Linked DNA regions of Homo sapiens: region 1 is linked to region 2. Evidence: promoter capture Hi-C in 16 types of primary human blood cells and fetal thymus (Javierre and others, 2016). All regions are on one chromosome and are shown on one strand. Each heading gives the region's core, a stretch centred on a gene start or on the middle of the fragment in contact. The rest is flanking DNA. Distances are from core to core; before and after follow the strand shown.

The links. The method cuts DNA at HindIII sites, captures the fragments that hold promoters and counts their contacts. A CHiCAGO score of 5 or more calls a contact.
Region 1: a contact is called between a fragment that was not itself captured here and the fragment with the promoter of NHEJ1 in region 2, in 9 of 17 cell types (total CD8 T cells, naive CD4 T cells, naive CD8 T cells and 6 more). The highest score is 8.1, in total CD8 T cells.

What each region holds. Positions count from the first base shown.
Region 1 is chr2:219,047,233-219,051,465 of GRCh38, forward strand. LOC107985987 (a long non-coding RNA gene) reads right to left here. Exons shown (of 3, transcript XR_001739887.1): 1 at 4,212-4,233; 2 at 1,834-1,895; 3 at 1-1,565. Among named protein-coding and RNA genes, the nearest start is that of CFAP65, 7.8 kb to the left of the region's middle. The HindIII fragment of the contact is 4,057 bases long and covers 824-4,233 here.
Region 2 is chr2:219,159,472-219,164,127 of GRCh38, forward strand. NHEJ1 (non-homologous end joining factor 1) reads right to left here and starts at 1,344. Exons shown (of 8, transcript NM_024782.3): 1 at 1,249-1,344. It overlaps SLC23A3 (solute carrier family 23 member 3), which reads right to left. Exons shown (of 12, transcript NM_001144889.2): 10 at 3,917-4,084; 11 at 2,828-2,923; 12 at 1,994-2,733. The coding sequence ends at 2,438. RefSeq lists a silencer at 1,009-1,128. The HindIII fragment of the contact is 12,472 bases long and covers 579-4,656 here.

The sequences.
Region 1 (4,233 bases), core at 1,602-4,101, 110 kb before region 2:
TATTAACAAAAGTATGGCATTTAGATTTCTCAAGTTTGTCCATTAGTGTTCTATTCCTTTTCCAGTAGCTAACTGAGGATCCCACTTGGCAGTTAGTTTTCATGCCTACTTAGTATCCTTCACTGTATCCTGAGTCTTTCCTTGCCTTCCATGACTTAACTCTTTTCAAGAATACTGTCAGTTATTTTGTAAAAGGTTCATTCTGGGTTTGTGTCATGATTTCTCATGATTAGAGTGAGGATAACACAGAGGTGATATTACCTTCTCAGAGCACTATATCATAGTGTTGATATGTATTATCAGTGATGCTAACTTGATAACTTGGCTAAAGTGGTATCTGTTGGGATTCTCCACTGTAAAGTTTCTATTTCTCTCTCTTTTTAGATTTTGGTCATCCCCATCTTTTGCTTCTCTAGGATTAATAGGTTGAAACCAAGAACCCTGTCCTCACACTATCCTTTCCACCCCTACACTCCCACTCTCCCAAGCCACACCCATTCCTTATCACCTACCTGGTTCCTTTCCTCTGAGTTTTTCCAAGTTGGCCATTCAGAAGTGTGTGCAGAAGCCAGATGCAGATGCACCTGGAGTTTGTTAGGGGAACAGGGTACTTTCTGAACCTTCTTGCTGAGGTCCTGCATTTTCTGCTTGCAGGGACATTCTGAGCAAATGTGACCAGCAATGGACCACAGGCATGTCCAACCCCATTCCCAGCTCTGTCTGCAACCCTTGAGCACTTTCTTCAACATTTGACGTTTGGGTTTTAAAAATCTCTAATCGCATTTCTCTCCAATCAGCCATGTATAACTTCTTGCTAATCACAAGCTTGTATCCATGAGCTTCCTTCCTTCTAGAATCACTGCAAAGCTCCTCACTTCTGCAGAGGTCCTGCCAGAAGGGCAGACGTACAGTTGATTTTTTCAATCAACTGAATATGGAGAGATGCGCTCATCCAATCCTCCCCTTTGTCACCACCTCCATCTGCCCCGAGTTTATTCCATTTCAGAGTTTTCTTGTGCTGCCCCTTCAGATGACAAAGGGTTAGGCCACACCTCCTCCAGGCTCATGCAATCTCCATTTTAAAAAGCCTTTGTGCCAAACTGTGTTTTGAGGCTCTGGAAAGCCTCAGGAGATGCCTTCATTAGTCCACATTCCCTCTTTGCCCTTTGTCCTGGTTACTATTGCTGTGTAAGGAGTTACTCCAAAATGTCAAGGTTCCAAACAGCCATTTTATTTTGTGGTTTTGTGAGTCAGGAATTCAGAAGCAGCTTGGCCATGTAGCTCTAGCTTGGGGTCTCTCATGTGGTTGCATTCAGAAGTTGGCCAGGGCTGCAGCCATCTGCAGCCAACCCAACTGGGCTGAATATCCAATATGGCGCACTCCCATGGCTGACAATTGGCTCTGGCTGTTAGCTGGGATGTCAGCTGGACCATGGACTGGAACACCTCTCTATAGGTTAGGTGCACACACTCTCCAGCATGGCGGTCTTAGTGTAGAATCAGGCAGAAGCTGCATGGCCTTTCTGACCTAGCCTCAGATCAGATTTGAGGTAGACCCGGCATCTCTACAGGAGAAGTGTCAAAGAATTTGTGGACATATTTTGACCGTCCCCCCCACCGCCCCTGCCACCCAACCCTATCCTAGATCTCCTCACAGCACTTAGAACATTATTCCTCCAGGACTCCCTTCTCTAACAGGGTTCTGGTTACTCCCAGGCTCATCAGTCCTTTAGGCTGAGGTGAGGAGTATGTCCCTCCCATCCCCTTGGTTTGCTGCTGCTGGAGACCCGGGTTCTGGTCTGCTAATGTTTGATTTTAAGAAAATGACTTCACCTCTGTGGGCCTCTGTTTCTTCAACTGCAAAGTAGGAATTAGGAACAACTTCATGTCACACACTGTTAGGATGAGAAAAGATCATGTAAATACCACACGTAGTGCACCTAATCGATAGTAGGTGCATAGTAGATTATGGGAGAAATGGCTGTGGGCAAGGCATTTTCCCTCTTGGGGCCTTGCTTTACTTATCTCTGAAATGTGGGTAATAATTCCCCTATTCTGCTTCCCCATACGGACGAGAGAGCTCTTGAATAGGCTGCAGGGAAGGCCAGCCCAGAGGTCAAACCCTGGCCCAGCTGGGCAGAAGGCCCAGCTGGGGTAGATGGGATGTGCATGCGTGCCAGGCAGCAGGTGTGACTCAGGCCGGTGAGGCACTCAGGGAGGGGCTATATCTACCCAACTGAGCCTTATCAGATCCGGGCTCCCCACCACTTGGCCCCATAAAACAAAGAGGCTTTGAGAACCAGGCTGAGGTGTGGGAGGTGGGGCTGAGCCTCAGAAGGCACAACCACCCAGGGGCCAGAGGGCACAGGCTGGGGAGCTGCCACCACCTACCCTGCCAAGGAGGTTTGCCCTGAAGGGGCGCCCCTCCAGGTGGGAAGCTGGGTCTATGTTCTCCAGAGAAGGCCTCCATTGCTGGAGCCCAGCCTTCTTTGGGGCACTACCCGCTGGGGCATTTCCCTCCAGGCCCTCAACTCCACTCTTGCCATGGGATACAGCATTTCCCTCCCCTACCTCCCATTTTGAAGTCTCCCCTCATCAAACTTCTAGCCCCAACTACACTGGCTCCCAGTCCCTGGGCATGCCCTGAACTTCCCCTCTGTACATCTGCTCCTGATGATACACCCACCTGCCCTTGCCCAAGTCACTCATACCCCTGAAGACCCAGGCCAACACCAACCCCAGGAAGTCTCTGAGCATTGCGCATCCTGCCCCCAGTCCTGTCTAATCACTCTGCACTTCCTCTGGCGTCACACTGTATGTAGCTTCTCTCTGAATCTTCATCCCTGGCAGAATCTGCTGAGCCTGGCAGAAGCCCAGGCCCACCAGGACCAGAATTGATGGTTGTAAAAGTTGTACACTGCACAAGGGCTCTAGGCTGAGGGAGCAGGGGGACTGAAATCCAGACACGCTCTGAAAGCCCCAGCATATACCCTGGGCTAGAGTCTCTTCTAAATGGACTTCCTGCTCCTGGCACCAGACCAGGAGAGCTGCCTTTTCTAGTTGAGTATCCCTGAGGGGGCACTTCTTACTAAATATTTCAATGGAGGGCTCCTATTTCCAGTTCCCACACAGGTGGCATAGGTGCTAGCAGCAGGCTCTGCTGCCTAAAGGACGTGTGCATTGGGTTCAGCCCTTTCCAACACAGGACCACTCACTGTCAGAAGCCATTCCACCCTGAGACCTGTGTCTCTTAGGGAAGATGGCTGAGTGCAGGCCTGCAGGGCTTCCAAAGAGCCATGCCAGCAGTGAGTGGGGCTTTCCAAACAAAAGAGAGAAGGCTGTAAGGCCAGCTTGAGGAAGGGTACTTACGGAGAGGCCCCAGCACAGCCAGATAGGGGAACCAGGGTGCAGTGAGCTTCTATAGAAGGTAACTGGCCCAGGCAGCTCCAGATGCCTCGCAGCCAGGAAGTTCCCCCACTGTGACTCCTGGACCCTGACACTCCAGGTCCTCCCAGGGACCTGTGGACTTAGGCATAGTTCTTGCATTTTGCCTGGACTGGGATAGCAGAGGCTACTCTGAATTTCTTTCCCATGCATTTCCAAGATAGAGCAGAGAGGCAGGCAGACAGAACAGGTGCCTGGAGGGTCCCTTGAACCCCAGTAGACCCTTGGATGACAGGGAGAGAGTATATCTATATAGGAAAGCCCTGGACATCACCCTTACAGGTGCAGCCACTAAAGCCAAAGAAGACCAAGGTTCAAGGTCAAGGATGCTGGTGGTGGGGGAGCTGGATTTCCTACTTAAAACCCCCAAAGTTGACTTGGGCCCTTTTCTCATCCCCCTCGCTCATCCAACCCTGGCTTCCATCCTGGCCATTCTATTGCCTAAGTATCTACAATCCATCACCTTCTTTATGACCCTAGAGCCACTTCCCTGGTCTAGGACACCAACTCCCCAGTAGTGCTTCCATGATTGTCCTCTCTGGTCTGCCCTCCATACTGTAGCCAGATGAGCTTTTGGAAGCAACCTAGTCATGAGCTTCCCCTGTTTGAGGGCCCCTGGGATTGAGTCCTATTGCGTGCAACACAGGCTCTGTGTCATCTGCCTCCTGCCTACCTCTCCACTTTGGCTTTTGCCAAGCCCACGTGACCCACATAGCTTTACCATGCTGGCCTAATGGTGGTTCCTCTAAGCCCTCAAGCCCCCAAACCTTTTATTTAACTATGTCCTTA
Region 2 (4,656 bases), core at 94-2,593:
CCTAGCTTTTGAAGTGTGCCCTTGTGACTTGTGACATAACTTTATATATATATGCATATATATATGCATATATATATATGCATATATATATGCATATATATATGCATATATATATGCATATATATATATGCATATATATACATATACGTGGTGATCTTTCTTTATGGCATCCTCAAAGCCTTGTGTTTGGAGGATGGTGTTTCCGTCACATTTCCCACATGCTGCTCTTATGGGGACAGAAGTGGTCATGGGATGATTAAGCTAGTCCTAGCCGGACAAGAGCTCCACAATGCCAAAGGTCACAAACGCGAATAAAGTCGCCACTTTCATCTCCCTTATAGGCACTCCCCAGTGTACTCTTAACAGTTGCCAAAATTGGGTTTACTATTCTAGCCCATTCCTTCGGAAAGCCCGGAAGCTCAGAACCCTCAAATTGATGGGTTTTGTTTGTCTGTTGGGTAAAGGGGGAGGAGTTTAAAATGTGGCCAGGAGTAACGGGCCCTATAAAAAGGCCTGACACATTGGGCACCAGACCCCGGCTGCCTGCTCCCACCACACGCGTCCCGTTCTGCGTCCGAAGCTTCTACACTTCATCCTTTTCTTTTTTCCTTCAAGGCTGCCTCTAACATTCACATTAACGAGATTCACGGGTTTATTTCTCTTGAGTGGAGGGGCGCTGAGCGGCATCCCGGCGGAGGGGTCCCTTGAGAACCTTTATCTGCACCGAGTCCGCTCCTCAGCAGTGACCCCTCTGGGCAGTTCCTCCGACGCCCTGCAGAGGGCAGTAGAGGCCCAGAGAGCATCCCGGCTGGGCCCCGCCCGGTCCCCCTGGGACAGCGCGAACCCTAGGTCCCACCACAACCATAGCCCCACCCCAGGAGCCGCCAGGCGTCCCGCTTCCACCCGCCCCAGCTATAACAGCCTTCGCTGTCCGCCTTCCCATTTCTACAGCACTGGCTGCACTGGGGCGCGGCTTCAAGGGGCAACAAAGCCGGCCACCAGCGGCTTCGTCGCACCAAACAGGCGACCAACGAGTACCTTCACTCGAGCCCTACCATCCACGCCGGGCAGCAGCCAGCGGACTGCGCACGCGCGGCCCCGCCCACCCCTCCCCCGGAGGCCTGCCCTGGACCCCGGCAGCGCGCGCTCCCTCCAGGGAGAAAAGGCCAGCGCCAGGGCCAACCCGCAGCGTCTGAGCAGCCCCTCGCTGGCTTGCTCCTGCCCGGACTCGAACGCGATTCCACCTACCGTCAGCGGCCGCGAGAGCGCCCACTCTCTTAGCCGCACGCACGCTTTCCTGCCCGCTCGCGCAAACCGAAAGGCCTAGAGTAAGAGGCCGCTTTCCCCCCACCGCAAGAGGAGGCAGGGTCTTGGGATACAGGGGCGGGGCCTATGCCTGGCGTGGGCGGGGCTTCTGGGCCTGGGACACTGATGAGAGGAGCGCCCCAGTGGCCAGGGTAAGTGGAGGAGAGGCCGGGCAGCCGGCTAGTAGAAGGGTAGTGGCGCGTCTTGGAGTCACGCTGGCCGAGTGGAAAGAATAGCGGGCGAGGCGCAGGAGAGGGGAGCCCAGGTTTGGATTTGTCAAACTTGAGTCACTTCTCTTCCCTCCCCTACCTATCCGGTCTCTTTTTAACAAAATAAGGGATTGAACTTCTGTAGATGATCTCTCAGGTCCTCCACCAGCACTAGAGTTGTTGAAGGAAGGAGTCTCCCAGGCATAAGTCCCATAGTCCGACCTCATCCTTTACCTCTCCTGCTTCATTTCTCCATCATCCCCGTACTTATACTCCCTCACTACTGAGAAATTTGAAACCCCTCACCTATCTTGGACTTTGTACAACCCATGGCTTTGCTCAAGCTGGACCCCGAACCTGAAAACTTCTCTGCATCCATTTTCCAAAACCAAAAATCCTCATTTGTCAAGGCCATCCTCATTGCTTCTTGCATAAAGCCTTTCCCACTGTCCCCAATCAGAATTCATTATCCCTTCCTCTTTGCTCCCACGGCATTATTTTAATCTTTATTACAGACTGCTTTCTGCTTTGCATTTTCGTTAGTAATTACAAAGGTCTTTTTAAACCGTAAATGCCTTGAGACGGCATGGACCCTGTCTTATCCCTGTAGTTCCAGGACCTTGCACATGGGAGATGCTCAGTAAGTATTAAAGTGAATGCTGGGGTTCAAGTGGCATTGATAGTACACAGGCAAAATCTCAATCATTCATGGTCCACTAAATCATGGCCTCTGCTCTGGAACAGTTAGGCCTAATTAAGACAAGGAAAGGCAACCCACCCTATTGGGAAATGGAACCTCTAGACAGTCCCATGTAATACACACACACATATCCTCTGCCTACAAGAAAGAACAGTTTGGGAGCTGACTCTCCAGCAGATGAGAGTTAGGGCTAAATTAACCAGGGCAGAAGTAGGCGTTCTGGTCATTTCTGGGACCTAAACCCTTCTCTGCTAGATTCAGGGCATGGCTCCCCTGAGCCAGGCAGCAAGTCTGCCATCTCTTCTGGCTCAGAGGAGCCTCCTTCCTCATCCCCAGGGTCTTCAGGCAGTGGGCAGAGGCAGTGGAGAGGCTGGGGGATGCAGGGACAGAGGTTTTGGATGGGGAAAGGAAGTCTGTACACTTGAGCAGCCTTCTCCCTGGGCTTCTGAGGCATTCGAGCCTCTTGGGCAGTGAAAGGAGATGGTAGCCCTTGACCTAGGCCTCGCTCAAGCTGTGTGCCTGCAAAAGAGAGGTTTGTCAGGCTATTGCCCATCCCAGGGAGGGATGGCTTCCTGGCCACTCCCCAGTCTGCTAGGGCCTAGCCTCAACTTACCAGGAATCGTGTTCTCTAGTAGGAAGCCTGAGAGTCCAGCCAGGAAGATGGGCTGTGTCAGCAGTGAGTGCAGTAATACATCCAAGGGGCTCCAGCCTATGAAGAGTTGGGGCCAGGCAGGAAGGGAACTCTGATCCTATATCCAAGCCCAGGAGTCTTACCCTCCCAGACCTAAACCTAAGCCTTGGACTAAGGACAGATCTTTCTGAATTGTCATTTCATCCCTCTCACCCTTTGTCTTTCTACTCTCCACTTTCCAAATCCAGGCCTTTCCCACAGGATTCCTGCTCAACACCCTGTGTTCTGATCATCCACACACCCTCCATATATGCTTTGACTATTCCAGGTTCCCTTTCTCTAGAAAGCGTAATATTTAAGTCCCAACCTCATCTCCCATTTTTTACCCTCTATGCTCTATCCTGGGTTTTTCAACCTCAGTCCTACTGACATCTTGGACCAGATAATTCTTTGTTGGGGGTGGTGGTGCAGGGGGGATGTCCTGTACAGTGTAGGATGTTTAGCAGCATCTTTCTATCCACTAAACCCTAGTAACAACTCCCTCTTCCTCCATTTGTAACAGCCAAAAATGTCTCCAGACATTGCCAAATGTCCCCATGGGGGCAAAATCACCCAGTTGAGAACTGGGTGAGACAAATTAAGCAATTTACTGCTCTCAGGACATATCCTAAGACTTCCCACTTCTGTGTCTTTGCATAAATGATGGTTCCTCCATCAGGAATGACCTTCTTCTCACCAAAGATGTTTAAAACTTACCATCCTTCAAGACCAGCTCTGTTACTGGATCACCTCAAACAGAAGCTATCTCTCTTGCCACTGAGCACTGTAGCTCTTTATCTGAACCTTTCCTGTTATTTTCCTACACATCTCATCTCTTGTACTACGCTGTAATAACGGAAGGCATCTTTGTATTCCAAATGGCTAGCATAGTGCTCAATAAATATCTGTTAAACAAATGGATGAAGTATTTACACCAAAGCCCAGAGAAGGCTGTGGGGCCAGGAGTCCGGGCAGCCTGAAGCCTCAACTTGCTTTCCTGCTACTGAGCAACGCCTCTTCCCTTCCACCTACCTGTGCTGAACAGGACTGGGGCTTCCCGAAACCATCTTGGCAGCAGCAAGGCCATGAAGATGGAGAAGCCCACAATGAAGATATTTCGCCCAGAGTCTATGTCAGCCAGGTAGAAGCTGGAGAATCCAGCAGACAAAACCACAGCCTGGGTCACCCCCAGCACCCCACCTGTCTCATACAGAAGAAATCAAGGGGGTCAGGAGGAGTCAAGGGGGCTCACATAGCATGGAGTATTGCAGGGCAAGCAGGTTGTAATGGGAAACAAATAAAACCCAAGAGAATGATTTTTGTTTTTTTTGTTTTTTTGTTTTTTTGGTTTTTTTTTGAGAGCAAGTCTCACTGTAACGCCCAGCCTGGAGTGCAGTGGTGCAATCTCGGCTCACTGCAACCTCCGCTTCCTACTCCCGGATTCAAGCGATTTCTCCTGCCTCAGCCTCCCGAGTAGCTGGGATTACAGGCATGTGCCACCACGCCCAGCTAATTTTTGCACTTTTAGTAGAGACAGGGTTTCATCATGTTGGCCAGGCTGATCTCGAACTCCTGACCTCAAGTGATCTGCCTGTCTGGGCCTCCCAAAGTGCTGGGATTACAGGTGTGGGCCACCACGCCCAGCCTGAGGCTGATTTCTGATTCTTCAGGAAGCCCAGAAGCCCAATCAAGAGAAGACCAAAATGTTGGGCTGAGAAATTGAGGCTGACACATGCTCATATCCATCCATCCATCCATCCATCCACCCATCC